Linked DNA regions of Homo sapiens: all the other regions are linked to region 1. The links are contacts of gene promoters, found by promoter capture Hi-C in blood cells and fetal thymus (Javierre and others, 2016). All regions are on one chromosome and are shown on one strand. The core of a region is centred on a gene start or on the middle of the fragment in contact, and the rest is flanking DNA. Distances in the headings are between cores, read along the strand shown. Region 1 holds the start of ADAD2 (adenosine deaminase domain containing 2). Region 2 overlaps MBTPS1 (membrane bound transcription factor peptidase, site 1). Region 3 overlaps NECAB2 (N-terminal EF-hand calcium binding protein 2).

Region 1 (4,372 bases), core at 1,237-3,736:
GGATATCTACATGATCTCCAAATGCCTCCCCTGGATGACTTATTCAGCACAAAGGAGAAAGTGAAGACACCTGGTAGATGCCACCCTAGTCAAATCCCCACAGCTCGCATCGCCAGGGGACAAAGCAAGATCGCACACTTCCTGGTGAGATGCGTGCCAAAGACTCGACATCACTTCAATAACACATCACCTGAACTCAGTTCTGAGGAAACAGACAAACCCAAGCTGAAGGACATTCGCAAAACTACTGGCCCTTACTCTTCAAAGACATCAATGTTGTGAAAGACAAAGACAGGAACTGTTTCAGGTAAGAGATTAAAGAGGCATGACAGCTAACTGTAATGTCATACTGGGATGGGAAACAATGGCCATGAGGTCATTACTGGGACAACTGGCAAAATTTGAATGTGAATAGAAATTAGAAGATGGTATTATATCAATGTTAAATTTCCAGGATTTGATAATTGTATTGTAGTTACATAAGAGATGCCCTTGTTTTTAAGAAATATAGATGAGGCCGGGCACAGTGGCTCACTCCTGTAATCCCAGCACTTTGTGGGGCTGAGGACAGGAACTCAAGACCAGCATGGCCAACACGGTGAAACCCCATCTCTATTAAAACACAAAAAAATTAGCTGGGCACGGGGGCACAAGTCTGTCATTCCAGCTACTCGGGAGGCTGAGGCGCAAGAATCGTTTGAATTCGAAAGGCAAAGGTTGCAGTGAGTTGAGATCTCACCACTGCACTCCAGCCTGGGCCACAGAGCGAGACTCTGTCTCAAAGGAAAAAAAAAAAGAGGGCTGGGCAAGGTGGCTCTAACCTATAATCCCAGCACTTTGGGAGGCCAAGGCGGGCGGATCACTAGAGGTCAGGAGTTTGAGACCAGCCTGGCCAACATGGTGAAACCCCATCTGTACTAAAAATACAAAAATAAATTAGCCGGGCTTGGTGTGGACACCTGTAATCCCAGCTACTCAGGAGGCTGAGGTAGGAGAATCACTTGAACTTGGGAGGCAGAGGTTGCAGTGGGCTGAGATAGTGCCACTGAACTCCAGCCTGGGCCACAAGAGTGAAACTCCATCTCAAAAAGAAAGAAAAAAGAAAAACAAACAAACAAACAAACAAAAAACACGTGAATGTATTTACAGGTAAGGAGCATAATGTCTGCAATTAACTTTTAAATTAAAACTCTGGGCCAAGTGTGGTGGCTCACACCTGTAATCTCAGCACTTTGGAGGCCCAGGAGGTCAGATAGCTGGAGCCCAGGACTTCAAGAACAATCTTGGCAACATGGTAAAACCACATAATCTCTACAAAAAAAATACAAAAATTAGCCAGGTGTAGTGGAGTCCACCTGTAGTCCCAGCTCCTCGGGAGGCTGAGGCGGGAGTATCACTTGAGCCCAGGAGGCGGACGCTGCAGTGAGGCAAGCTTGTTCCACCGCATTCCAGTCTGGGCAACAGAGTAAGACCCTGTCTCAAAAAAAATCCAAAACACAAAACAACCACTCTGAGTTAAGGGATTTAAGGGGTATGTATTGAAGAAGAGGAAATAACGGTTTACCTCTGTATCATGTACACGGTATTACCCTTACCAAACTGTGCTTAATAATGTCTTTTAAGTCAGGGGAGTGGCTCCCATTTCGGTATCTCCAATGCTAGCACGGCAACTTAAATTGCATGTAAGTGGCTCTAAAAACGTATACAGAAATACCAGGGGGCCTTAACCTCCCTGGAAGTCAGGTGGGAAGAATGTTCACCTGCCATGACTCTTTCACAGTTGAGCATCTGGTGTGGCTGGTGATCCTTGGAGATCGCTGCTCACAGCAGGGTCCACCCCAAGGTCCCAAGCTCAGGCCAGGTCCTGCTCCGGCGGTGTCTCTGAGCATAGGGACCAAGGTCCACCTTCCCCAGACCCCCTGCTCCCCACGTCCTGGGACCCAGCCCTCCGTGGCTCTGCCCTCTGGCACAGCCATGCCCCGGCCCGGCCTCACCTGGTGGCTGGTCCTCCCGGAAGAGCAGGAAGATGCCCAGGCTGGCCGCGTACTCCGTGAGCAAGGACACGGCCTGGCTGGCAGGTGGGTCTTTGAGCGGCAGGCTGAGCCCTGCTGGGGGCACAGGGACCCTCGGGGCCTTCCCCATCTGTTCCCCCAAGTTTTCCCACGCCCGGGCTGCCCCCAGTTCCCCGACTCCGGCCCCTGCCCCAGGCCCACTGTCCCTCAACACCGAGACCTGGGGCCACCCGCCCTCCGCGCGATACGTCGCGGGCGCGGGCGCGGGCCCCCAGGCACTTTGGGCCTGGGCGGGTAGCGGTCGCCAGGGGCGGGGCTGGGGGCTGATCTGCAACGATGCAGCCAGGCGGGGCTTCCTACGACTGCCGTCGTCGTCAGCGCCCTGAGAAGCCGAAGCCATGGCCGCCAACGAAGATCTGAGGCGCTAGGCCCTATCTCGCGCTGCTCTCGCCCTTTCACACGCGCAGGGCGGGTGCCTTCACGTGGGGAGCACGCGGACGAAGCGTGGTGAGCTCCACCCCTGCCATACGATGGCCAATGAGAGCCCTGAGATCTGTGATGGACAGTGCACCCTGCCAATGGGAAGGCCAGTCTCCCAACGACGGCGGCTTGGATGCTTATGGCTGAGGCCAAGGTCCCACTGCCTGGACGGAAGTTCCGGCTGAGACCAACGTCCCATGGCCTGGAGGGAAGTTCCGGTGGGTGGGTGAGGGGTTGCTCTAGCAGCTGCTTCTTTAACCGTGGGTGGTCGCGGAGCCTGCAAGGCGGGGGAGGAGCATCTGGGGGCGTCAGGTCCAGTTTCACACTCTAGCTCCTGCCCTAGGCCCCTAGGCACCTCCACATCACAGGCTGCTCAGCTGCTTCACTGGCTGAGCCTGGAGACTTCAACACAGGAATTAGGGGTTCACACTGTCAGCAGGATCATTGGATATAAAATTTCACTGCAGGCCTTTCTGAAGCCAAACATAAGTGTTCCCCAGCCAAGAATTAGCCATTTGATGCAAAATGTAGGTGGGCGTGGTGGCGCACACCTGTAGTCCCAGCTACTCAGGAGGCTGAGGCAGGAGAATCGCTTGAACCTGGGAGGAAGAGGCTGCAGTGAACTGAGATTGCGCCACTGCACTCCAGCCTGGGCAACAGAGCGAGACTCTGCCTCAAAAAATAAATAAATAATTTTTTTTAAGAAAATAGCCATTTGATACTCTGCCTTTTTCCCCCCTAAGAAGGGATTTTGAGTTAATTCATACAAATAAGACAAGATAACAATTGTTTAAAGTGAAGAGCTAGAGATCAAGAGACATAGGAAAAATAAGATAAAGACAGGGATGAAGACAATTTACACAAGGCTTACTGTGATGCAACGCGTATTTGCTTGAAGGAGGCTGCAAGTTTAACGGAGTCTTACAGTAGCCACTAACTTGGGAAAGCATGACCAGTGTCTGTAAGATTTGTCACAGTGCTTGCTGCTGCTGCTGCTGAAGCTGGGCCTGGCAGCTCTCTCCAGGATTGTGACAGTGAGGATGCTGGGGCATATGAGGACCAGGTGGTGGAGTCCTCCCAGAACCTTTGACTTGGAAGAAGCAGGTGTGGTGGGCTGGGTAGTCAGCCTCCCCAACATGTCAAGAATTGACATCAGGAAGAACAATTCCATTTTGTGTGTGTGTGCAGCCCAGAGAGTGGGATGAGGCCCAGGAGAGTGAAGGGACAGCACAGCAGATGTCCAGAAATGGACTGAGGGCTGCACATATCCACAGAGAGACTTCCACAAAGTCATCAAACCCAGTAACGCCCCAAACGCTCACCAACAGGAGGTTGCGTGAACAAATCAATGGTATATTCATACAATGGAACACGACTCACTAATTTAAAAAGGAAACAACAGCTGCGTACACAACACAGGTGAATCTATTAGGCACATGGCGTGGAAGAAGCCAGACACATCCTCTCCATGATTCCACTTATGTAAAGTTCTTGAACTGGCAAAACTAATCTGTGGTGATAAGAGTCCAAATAGTGGTTCCTTCTTGAAGGAAGTATTGACTGGGAAGTGGCACCAGGGAATTTTCTTTTTAGAAAAAAATTTTGTAGAGATGGGGGTTTTGCTCTGTTGACCAGTCTGGTCTTGAACTCCTGGACTCAAGCAACCCTCCCACCTCGGCCTCCCAAAGTGCTGGAATTATAGGCATGAGCCACTGTGCCTGGCTGGAACTTTCTTGAGTGATAGAAATGTTCTCTGTCTTGATCTGGGTGGTGTTCATGTGGGTTTCTATGTATGAATAAAAATTCAATGAGCTGTACATTTAAGACTCGTGTGCTTTACTGCATGTTGAGTATATGTCAGTTACAAAAGCAAATTGATA
Region 2 (4,260 bases), core at 1,202-3,701, 130 kb after region 1:
CTTCTGTCATCCCCGGGGGCCGCGGTTGCAGCCTGTCCAAGAAGAGCATGCTTCTGTGTCATTACGTCCTGTGCTGACTGTGACTGGGGGTGAAAGCACCCGCCTCCGATGGCAGGCTGTGACCTCTGCTGCTGTCTCCACACTCCTGTTTGCAGTGCCGCCTGGATCCCTTCTCCAGCTCACTAACTCGGCTTCTTCATTTGCATCGTTTCCTTTCCGTACCCAGTGTTTGAGGTGGACCTGCTGTTTCCCTCTGTGGCTAGGACCAGCTCGGCATGGCTGGTCCCCTTTTTCTCCAGATGCCACCCCCTTACTTTTTCTGTGACGTCCCTGGCCCAAACAGGACAATATAAGAAGAAAGGGGGAGCTTCTCCTGAGAAAGGGGATGAAGCCAGGGACAGCTGTCAGAGCTGTGTCCGTGGCCGGGCAGGCACACCTCCCACCCCATCAAGCAGGAGTCTTGCCCTCCGAGGCCCCCTGGCCGCCTGGTACCCGGCCCCTCTCCCCAGCCCCTCAGGCAGGAGGCTACCCTCTTGACAGGCCCCCTGCCTGCCTTCTTTTCCTCCAGTGATGGTATGGGGCCAGGGACGGAGGCCACCTTCCGTCCTGTAAGGCGAAGAGGAGAGTGCCCGTGTGAAGGTGGCGAGGCTGCCTTCCGCCTTTACTCCTCATCATAAACCGAAAGTGCTGAACACACCACGCACTGACCGTATGTCTTCATTTCGAATATGCTTAATAGAACACAGGAAAATGGTAGAATCATCACATTGTCTCATCAGTAGCTTTCTTCCTGAACCTTAATCACTGGGTACTTTTCCATTCCAGTTCACATCTCATCATTTAAACATTTCTGATAAGTTTCCATTTTTGCATCTTATTTATTTATAACCTTCTATTAGCCTAGCATTCAAACCAGCATTTATATTCCAGCCATGGTCAGCAATTCATACTCAGTGAACAGTGTTAGCTGAATTTCCAGAAACCCAATTATTCTCCACAGTGTTGTTCAGGACTTGAAGCAGATAACAATATCCTTTCTATCCTTGGCTATCTACCTGTTCACATCAAATAATCCATCACATACTGAACCGGCCCATCCAGCATGTTGATAATGGACAGCTCCTGGAATTTGATTTTCACAATCACTCAGTAATTCCTTCTTCTCAGTACGCTGCTGGGTTTTACATTTATCTTGCTTTTCATATCTTGTTGAAAATTATTCTCGGTCCCCAGAGACCTAGATCGACGCATATTCTGAGTCTCCAAAAGAGATTTGAGACCAGGAGACAGCTCCAGATGCTGTCAGCCCAGTGCTGGGGGCAGGCTTCCATCTGTGAAGTGGAGAGGCGCTTTGGGCTTCTTCGTTGGCATCAGGTGCCCATACCTAGGGCAGCTGTGGAAGTGTCAGCGTCCTCCCTGAGAGGAACTCCTGCTCCGGTGGCTCCTCAGTCCTTCCGTCAGTATGCTGTAAAGCACCCACATGGTAATGGGTGTGGACTGTTACCATGACTGCTCCACTAGAAAGTGCCATCACCAAAGAATGAGATTCTGGAACAGGATATCACTGTTAGAATGGAAATATAGCCCATAGATATTCAGCTACAAAGTCATAAAGCCTAAATGTCATTGATTCCGTAACTTAACACTGTCAGTTTAACTTTCAGACTGATTAAGCCTGAAGTGTAAAATTAAATCCTATAAAATAGGGCGGGTTATAATGAGTGCTCATTGGCATTCAGGCAGTTGCCGAGCTGGGAGTATCGAGTGGGAGTCTCTCTCTTGCCTGCCTAGGGAACCTCTACTCAGACCAGCCCTTGCCCGCCAGCTTGGCGTTGACTTTCAGCCTAATTGCTGATAGGACTGGACGTCTTTGCTTTCACTTGCCCAAAGTGAAAGAGACAGGCTGACAGTTTCCAAATGAATAAATAACAGAAAAATAGAGAAATTTTAATTTGCAAACTTACTGTATTCTTCCCCCTCACTTAAGCCAGAGTAGTGTTTTTCCCATCGCGCTCTTCGCTCTAGCTCCGGTGTCCTCCCAAGCTCTGTGCTGCTGTTGCCAGCGTATCAACCTCTCTGTCTTCTTCGGGTCTAAGTTGTATTGGCCTGAACGAGTTTTTCAGATCCCAGAGTTAATAATGATACTGTGCACCACAGAGTGCAGGAATCGCACACGTTCATTTGATCGTCCCCCGCCTGCAGGCAAGGCAGATGGGGACCCCACGTTTTGCTGCTCAGACTCTCTCCCACTGTTGGTTCCTTGTATGTTTCGTATTCTCCCTGGAGACAGTGGTTTCTTCAGAGACAAAGATGCTGTCTGGTTCCCGGCACCAGTTTGCCCACTTCCTTATATGCAGTGGTTCTGGAATCACCATTGCCTCCGACTGCTCCAGGCCTTAGGGAGAGGACCTCGATAGCCCCAGGCTCAGGTCCACTCAGCAGGCTTCAGCTCCTCCCCCTGACAGGCTCCTTCCAGGGCCTCGCTTGGAGTGTCCTCCCGAGGCGCTTGGTCATGTTTAGCTTTATGCAAAAACAGGCTCCTGCTGGTCATATTGTAAACTCAGTAGAATCTCATGAACAGGGACTTGATTTTGATCTTTCTCCCTCGGGACGTGGAAACGGCCACCATAGTTGCTGTCAGTGGCATTTAGGTGGCCGTGGACGCAAATGGCATTTCACATCTCCCCGTAGATCACTTGCTCTGTCTTGAGTTTCAGTTGAACTTCCTAGACTAGTACCTAGACTAGTACAATGGCTTATTTTTGTTTTGTTTTAATCCATTTTCCTGAAGTAACCTTTGGAAACATCAGAAGCTACTCTCCATTGACCTGGACAAGGTGGTGTTACCCAACTTTCGATCGAATCGCCCTCAAGTGAGGCCCTTGTCCCCTGGAGAGAGCGGCGCCTGGGACATTCCTGGAGGTGAGTTCTCGGCTGCTTTGTGATTGTGCTCAGTCATCCTGTATTTTGTTCAAAGGAGTCTCCCTCCCTCCCCAGGAGGCGGGCCAGACTCTCCCTGTCTCTGCCTTCCTGGGAGCTGTGGTGGCCTTGGCTCTTGGCTTCTTTTGTGGCACAAACCAGCATGAGCAAGGGCAGGCCTGACAGATTAAGAGATTGTTGTTTCCCTTAGAAAATGCTACCTAGATTTTCACATTTGAATTTATTTTACAACGGCTGGGTGATCTACTTAAACATGTTCAAAGTAACTTGCACGCTCTTTATGAAAGTTCTGCCAGCCACCTATTAACGTCCCTTACAGGATGCCTGTCTGCTGGTTTGGGTCCCAGCCAATGGCAGCAGCCGCCCTGGCTCCCAGCCCTCAGCCCAGAAGGCCCCTTCAGTTCTCTGCCCTGCCCCCCTGGGAGGGACTTGACTGAGCTGGGGTGTGTCCCTTAGGTGGTCTCATCCTGTCTGTCTCTCCAGGGATCCTGACTGGCTACATAGACTGCCTAGGGCAGGTTCTTCTCCACTACCCAAGGCAATTGGTACCAGGCCTTTCCAGCCGAGCCTGGGCAGTTCTTTTGCTCTAGAGTCCCCTGTACTCTTCCAAAGAGTTTATAGCTACCAAGAGGAGTTTCTCTGGGTTCCAGGAATTGTCCAGAAATGGGATCAGGAAGGGGCACCCCTGTCTGTGCAGTCCAGCCCTGGACACCACGTGGTGGTGCCAGGGTCCTGAGGGCCTTGCGCATAGGTCACGGGGTGCGCTGAAGGTAAATTCCAGAGCCCTTGGCCTTGCCCAGTCGTATTGACATTCTGAACCAGGGTCCTCTGATGGCCTCTCCTGGCTTTCAGCCACACGTCCCCTCCATGAAGGGCTTTCCCAGAGGCGGGGCACTGCCAGCGGTGCTTCTTCCGCCACGCCCCCTTTCTCCTCCTCCCACTCAGCTGGAACCACAGGCCCCTCCTTCTCCCCTGGATAGAGACGTGCCCATCTTCCCTTGTGTTTAGAGAAACACAGAGCGCCTCTGGGCCTCCCTTCGGTAGGTTGTGACAGAAGCATAGCTGGGCCTGATCATCCGTCTGCGGGGATCCCAGGGAGGAAGGGCAGCAGAGATCCACCGAGCCTCCACCCCACAGGAAGTGGCTGCTCTTTGCTCTCATCCACTCTTTATTAATAGCCTGGGTTACTTTAGCTAAGGCTTAAAAATGATGTATGCCCTGCAAGCCCAGCTAGTGAAATTAGCTCGCATTTAGTTTCTGATGAATCCAGCCGTCATAGAAAAAGGCCGTCATGGTAGCTCTGTGGCGTTCCTGCCTGTT
Region 3 (4,555 bases), core at 255-2,754, 200 kb after region 1:
GGAAGTCTGCCCTGAAAACTGCGCAGCCATACTATCTGTTCTGCGGCAGGAGAAAAACAGCAAGTTTTTCATCAAGATAGTAACAGGAAAACCCAGGAAATCTAAGTGTCAGCTTTTTTCACAGCGATGGCTGCTAATTCTGGGGCACCCAAGAATCACAAGACTGACCACATGTGCAGAGTTCTGGGCTCCAGTCCAGGGATTCTAGCCAGTGAGTATGGCCAGGAGCCCAGGAATGTGTATTTTAATTTTCCCAGGTGATTCAGCGCAAATGCTCAGATCAAACTCATTTGGGAAACAGTGTCTCAGAGTTACCTTCACAATCATGTCTGATCAGGACCAGCTCTTCAACTACGAAGAAACACACGATCAAACCCCAGTCCCCCAGCAAACCAATATCCTGGTCCTGAGGTACCTCTCTGCCTGGAAAATTAAGGGCTCAATCGAGCTTGGGTGCCGACACCTGGCTGTTTCCCTCATCTGTTTGCATTTTCTCTTTTTCTTCTGTGTCAAGCACATCAGCTGTTCTGGGAAGAACTGAGCAAAGAAGGGTTTTTCTCAATTTGAAACAGCAAATGGAGGTGGGCGGGGGGACGGGTGCTCGTGTTCCCCGGGAGATGGGACTGCTGAGCCACGAGAATGTCGCTCCTCTCTAAATACCAGGTCACACCCCTAACACAGCAGCCACCACCTAGGATGGGACCCCAGATGCATTCCCATGGTTCCAAGCACACAAACAAGGCCTAACACAAGACCAGAAAGAAACACTCCTCTTTCACGTCTCTTTCAGTCCTCCTGAGAAACTCTCAACTTGCTACTACTGTCTTCAACACCTCTCTGATTTCCCCCCAGTCTCTCTTTTTAACAGAGAGGTGGCAAGCCTCAGGATTCAAGCTGGATCGTAAACAATGACAGGTGCTTATTTTTACAGTTACTTCACTTACGGCATGTGATGCCGAGAGTGCAGTTATAACCATATGCCATTTCCTAAACTGCTTTCTAATTTTCAAAAGTGGGCTGGGGTGTGGTGGCTCCTGCCTGTAATCCCAGCCCTTTGGAAGACTGAGACAGCAGGATTGCTGAGACCAGGAGTTTGAGAACAGCCTGGCCAACATGGCGAGACCCCGTCTCTACAAAAAAAAAAAAAAAAAAAATAGCTGGGTGTGGGTGGGACTACATGCCTGTAGTCCCAGCTCCTTGGGAGGCTGAGGTGGGAGAATTGCTTGAACCTGAGTTGGAGATTGCAGTGAGCCACAATGGTGCCACTGTACTCCAGCCTGGGGGACACAGCAAGATTCTGTGTCAATAAATAAAATAAGGCCGGGCTCCATGGCTCAAGCCTGCAATCCCAGCACCTGGAGGCTGAGGCGGGTGGATCACCCTAAAGACCAGCCTGGCCAACATGGTGAAACCCCATCTCTACTAAAAATACAAAAATTAGCTGGGTGTGCTGGTGGGCATCTGTAATCCCAGCTACTAGGGAGGCTGAGGCAGGAGAATCGCTTGAACCTGGGAGGCGGACGTTGCAGTGAGCTGAGATCTCGCCACTGCACTCCAGCCTGGGTGACAGAGCAAGACTCGATCTCAAAAAAAAAAAAAAAAGAAAAGAAAAGAAAAGGAAATAGAAAAAGAAAAAAGAACGAATGAGAGAAAGAGAGAAAGAAAGAGAGAGAGAGAAAGAGAAAATAGGCTAGCTGTGGTGGCTCACACCTTTCATCCCAGCACTTTGGGAGGCTAAGGCAGGTGGATCACGTGAGGCCAGGAGTTCAAGACCAGCCTGGCCAACATGACAAAACCCCGTCTCTACTAAAAATACAAAAATCAGCCAGGCATGGTGTTACACACCTGCAGTCCCAGCCACTCAGGAGGCTGAGGCATGAGAATTGCTTGAACCCAGGGAGGGAGAGGTTGTAGTGAGCCAAAATCACGCCACTGCACTCCTGGGCGACAGAGCGACACTTTTTGTCTAAAACAAAAAAATAAATAAATAAATAAAACGTGGGCCAAACAACAGAATAGTTCTGCATAAACAATTAGCATGTGGATGCAGCAAAACAAATTAGAGTCTGGGAAATGGTGTCTTCACTGTATTAATAAATATGTACACCAGGCATTCTCCTGAGCATTTACTATCTCATTCAATCCTTGCAATGGCTGAGATTTTAGGTATATAATTGTGCCTATATTACATAATGGAGCACCAAAGGCACAAAGAGCTGTGGCAACTTGCCCAAGGTCACCCAGCTCTTAGGTACACAGACATCCCCACCAAGCAGCAGGTGGGCACGTGCGCGTGCACGGCATACCCCCATGGGACCCTGCAGGGTCTCAGAGACTCACCGGAGCTGGCTGGTCTGTTCCTCGATGGCCTCCACCGCACTCTCCACTGAGCTCAGCAGCGACTGGATCTGATTGGCCGTCTCCTTCAGGAGGAAGCGGGTCACAAACTGGTCCACGTTGCTCCCACCCTCATATACCTGTGGAAGGAAGAGAAGAGGCACTGAGGGGAAAGGGGTGGGAGGGAAATTGGAGGTGGGGTCTAGCACAGGAGTTGGGGGAAAGCTGGTGCTGGTGAATTTGCTTTGCAAAGGGAAGGGAGGACCCCACGGCCTCCTGGGGTCCAGTCTTAGAGGCTGTAGCATTTCCAACGCAGAGGCTAGAGGTTTAGAGACCAAATTTGAACCCTGGCTTCACCACTTACTAGCTCTGTGACCTCCCAGAGTATAATGGGGTCACTGAAGCATCTATCTTACAAGGTTGTAGCGAAGATTAAACAGCAACATGCGTGTACAATGCTCTGCACAGGGCCTGCCACACAGCAAAGACTCAATCAACAGTAGGTGCTACAATATAGATGACGGTGATGGTGGCAGTGATAGTGACTGGTAGTTTTGTTGTTGCTGTGACAAGGATAATGATCAGGCAAGAAGAATCCACGACCTTCCCTCCCTCCTTCCTCCTGCAAGGAGGATTCCTAGGGCTCCTGGATCTCCAGGCTGCTACTAAGGAAAATGACAAAACGGAATCAAAAGCAGCTGAAGGGAGGAAAGTGCCCGGGGCTTAGTAATCAAAAGGAGGTGGCCAGAGAGGAGCCTGGGGGGAAATCAGAGAGGGAGTCTTAGCGGAACTCTGGGGAAAAGACGAAAAAGAAAGTTTTTTCCAAGTTTTGCTCTGTGGTGTGGAACAGAATTTCCACCTCTGTCCTGAGATTCTGCAAGGACATTTCTCAAGGCTTTTGGATCCAGTGGAGATGCTTTGGGCTGCAAAGACTTTACAGCAGAAGGGAGAAAGCTCTGCTTACCCACGTCGCTCAAGGACGGGATGATGAAAATGATGCTGTGTTGGGGGATCTTGGGTCTCCCAAACCCTGCCCTGCTCTCCTGGCCTCCTCTGCCAAGACCCCGCCTTCCCAAGCCACCTGCCCCAGGCACCTTGGATTTCTGCCCAGTCCCTGGCAAGGCAAGGAAAAACAGGGCTCTCAAGGAAAGCAAATTAAACCATCCATCACTCTGACTGGGAATTAATTAGCAATAATTGCACAATGGGAAACACGGCTGACAGACAGACTGAGAAACAGAGGAGGAGGAGGGGCACATGAGAAGACAGCTAAGGCGTGGTGAAGGTGGGCGACCCAAGCCACCAAGCCGACAGCCAGACCAGGGTCTGCTGGGGACAGACCCTGACAGAGTACATGGCCAAAACTATGTCAGGTTCTTACAGCTTGGCAGGTTCCCGCAGCTGAATAAATGGCAATGACCAAAACCACACATGATCCAGTGATCAACAGACTCCAGACACGCGAATGGCCAAAAACGGACATGAAGACATAACTTGGTAAAATATTTAAACACAAAGCAAAAGGCTGCTAGAAGTGATCAGCAGAAAAATGGGCTGAAGTGTGTTAAAAGCACCCGGACCAGTGACTGAAGATGTGGTCAGCGATCAATAAGTGTTACTGGTTAGCTGAATTCCAAAGAAGACAAGTTATTTTCCGGGGAGTAAAAAATGAAGCTTTTCCTGATTTCTCCTCCACAACTGAAAAGCAGCCTACATTCCCCCATGTAAAGATACAACCCCAGATTTGACACAGGGGTACACGTGCCTATTTGTTACATGGGTATATTACATAATGGGGGGGGACTGAGCTTGCCTCAGACAAGAGACCAGCTCCACAGACTCCACAGGGAAAGGCTCAGGTGGAGAAATTTTGCATCCAGTGGACAAGTTACTCATTTGTAGAACAACTGGGAGATCTCCAGAAACCTGCAAATTTCTGAAATTTTACCAGATGAGCACCTTTTCTGCAAACAATGCTTAAGAGTTTGTCCTAAGTCACTTGGGCTTGAATTAGAGAGAGTTCTTCATATGGGGAAGTTATGACAAGAACTAACAGCGATCACTCAAATTAAACATTCAGGTTACAGAGGTTAGGAAATAAAAACATTAACCACTAATGGTTTAATTTCAACTATATTGGATTTAGTCAATAAAGCATAGGGGAAAAAAGCCTAAAATCTTAAAAATTATTTTTATTCCCAAAGGGAAGAGAAAGTGT

The links. Contacts are between HindIII fragments. The CHiCAGO score rates a contact against its expected background, and 5 or more counts as called.
Region 2: a fragment that was not itself captured here is called in contact with the fragment with the promoter of ADAD2 in region 1 in 3 of 17 cell types (erythroblasts, M0 macrophages and M2 macrophages); the score reaches 5.2 in erythroblasts.
Region 3: a contact is called between a fragment that was not itself captured here and the fragment with the promoter of ADAD2 in region 1, in 3 of 17 cell types (M1 macrophages, monocytes and M0 macrophages). The highest score is 6.2, in M1 macrophages.

What each region holds. Positions count from the first base shown.
Region 1 is chr16:84,189,271-84,193,642 of GRCh38, reverse strand. ADAD2 (adenosine deaminase domain containing 2) reads right to left here and starts at 2,486. Exons shown (of 10, transcript NM_001145400.2): 1 at 1,995-2,486. The coding sequence starts at 2,412. It overlaps ADAD2-AS1 (ADAD2 antisense RNA 1), which reads left to right. Exons shown (of 5, transcript NR_147175.1): 5 at 1-1,085. RefSeq lists an enhancer at 2,446-2,740. The HindIII fragment of the contact is 4,803 bases long and covers 1,435-4,372 here.
Region 2 is chr16:84,054,667-84,058,926 of GRCh38, reverse strand. MBTPS1 (membrane bound transcription factor peptidase, site 1) reads left to right here. Exons shown (of 23, transcript NM_003791.4): 22 at 2,792-2,922. Among named protein-coding and RNA genes, the nearest start is that of SLC38A8, 14 kb to the right of the region's middle. RefSeq lists enhancers at 2,501-3,093, 3,094-3,687. The HindIII fragment of the contact is 5,418 bases long and covers 1-4,260 here.
Region 3 is chr16:83,988,416-83,992,970 of GRCh38, reverse strand. NECAB2 (N-terminal EF-hand calcium binding protein 2) reads right to left here. Exons shown (of 13, transcript NM_019065.3): 6 at 2,341-2,477. Among named protein-coding and RNA genes, the nearest start is that of NECAB2, 22 kb to the right of the region's middle. The HindIII fragment of the contact is 5,019 bases long and covers 1-4,013 here.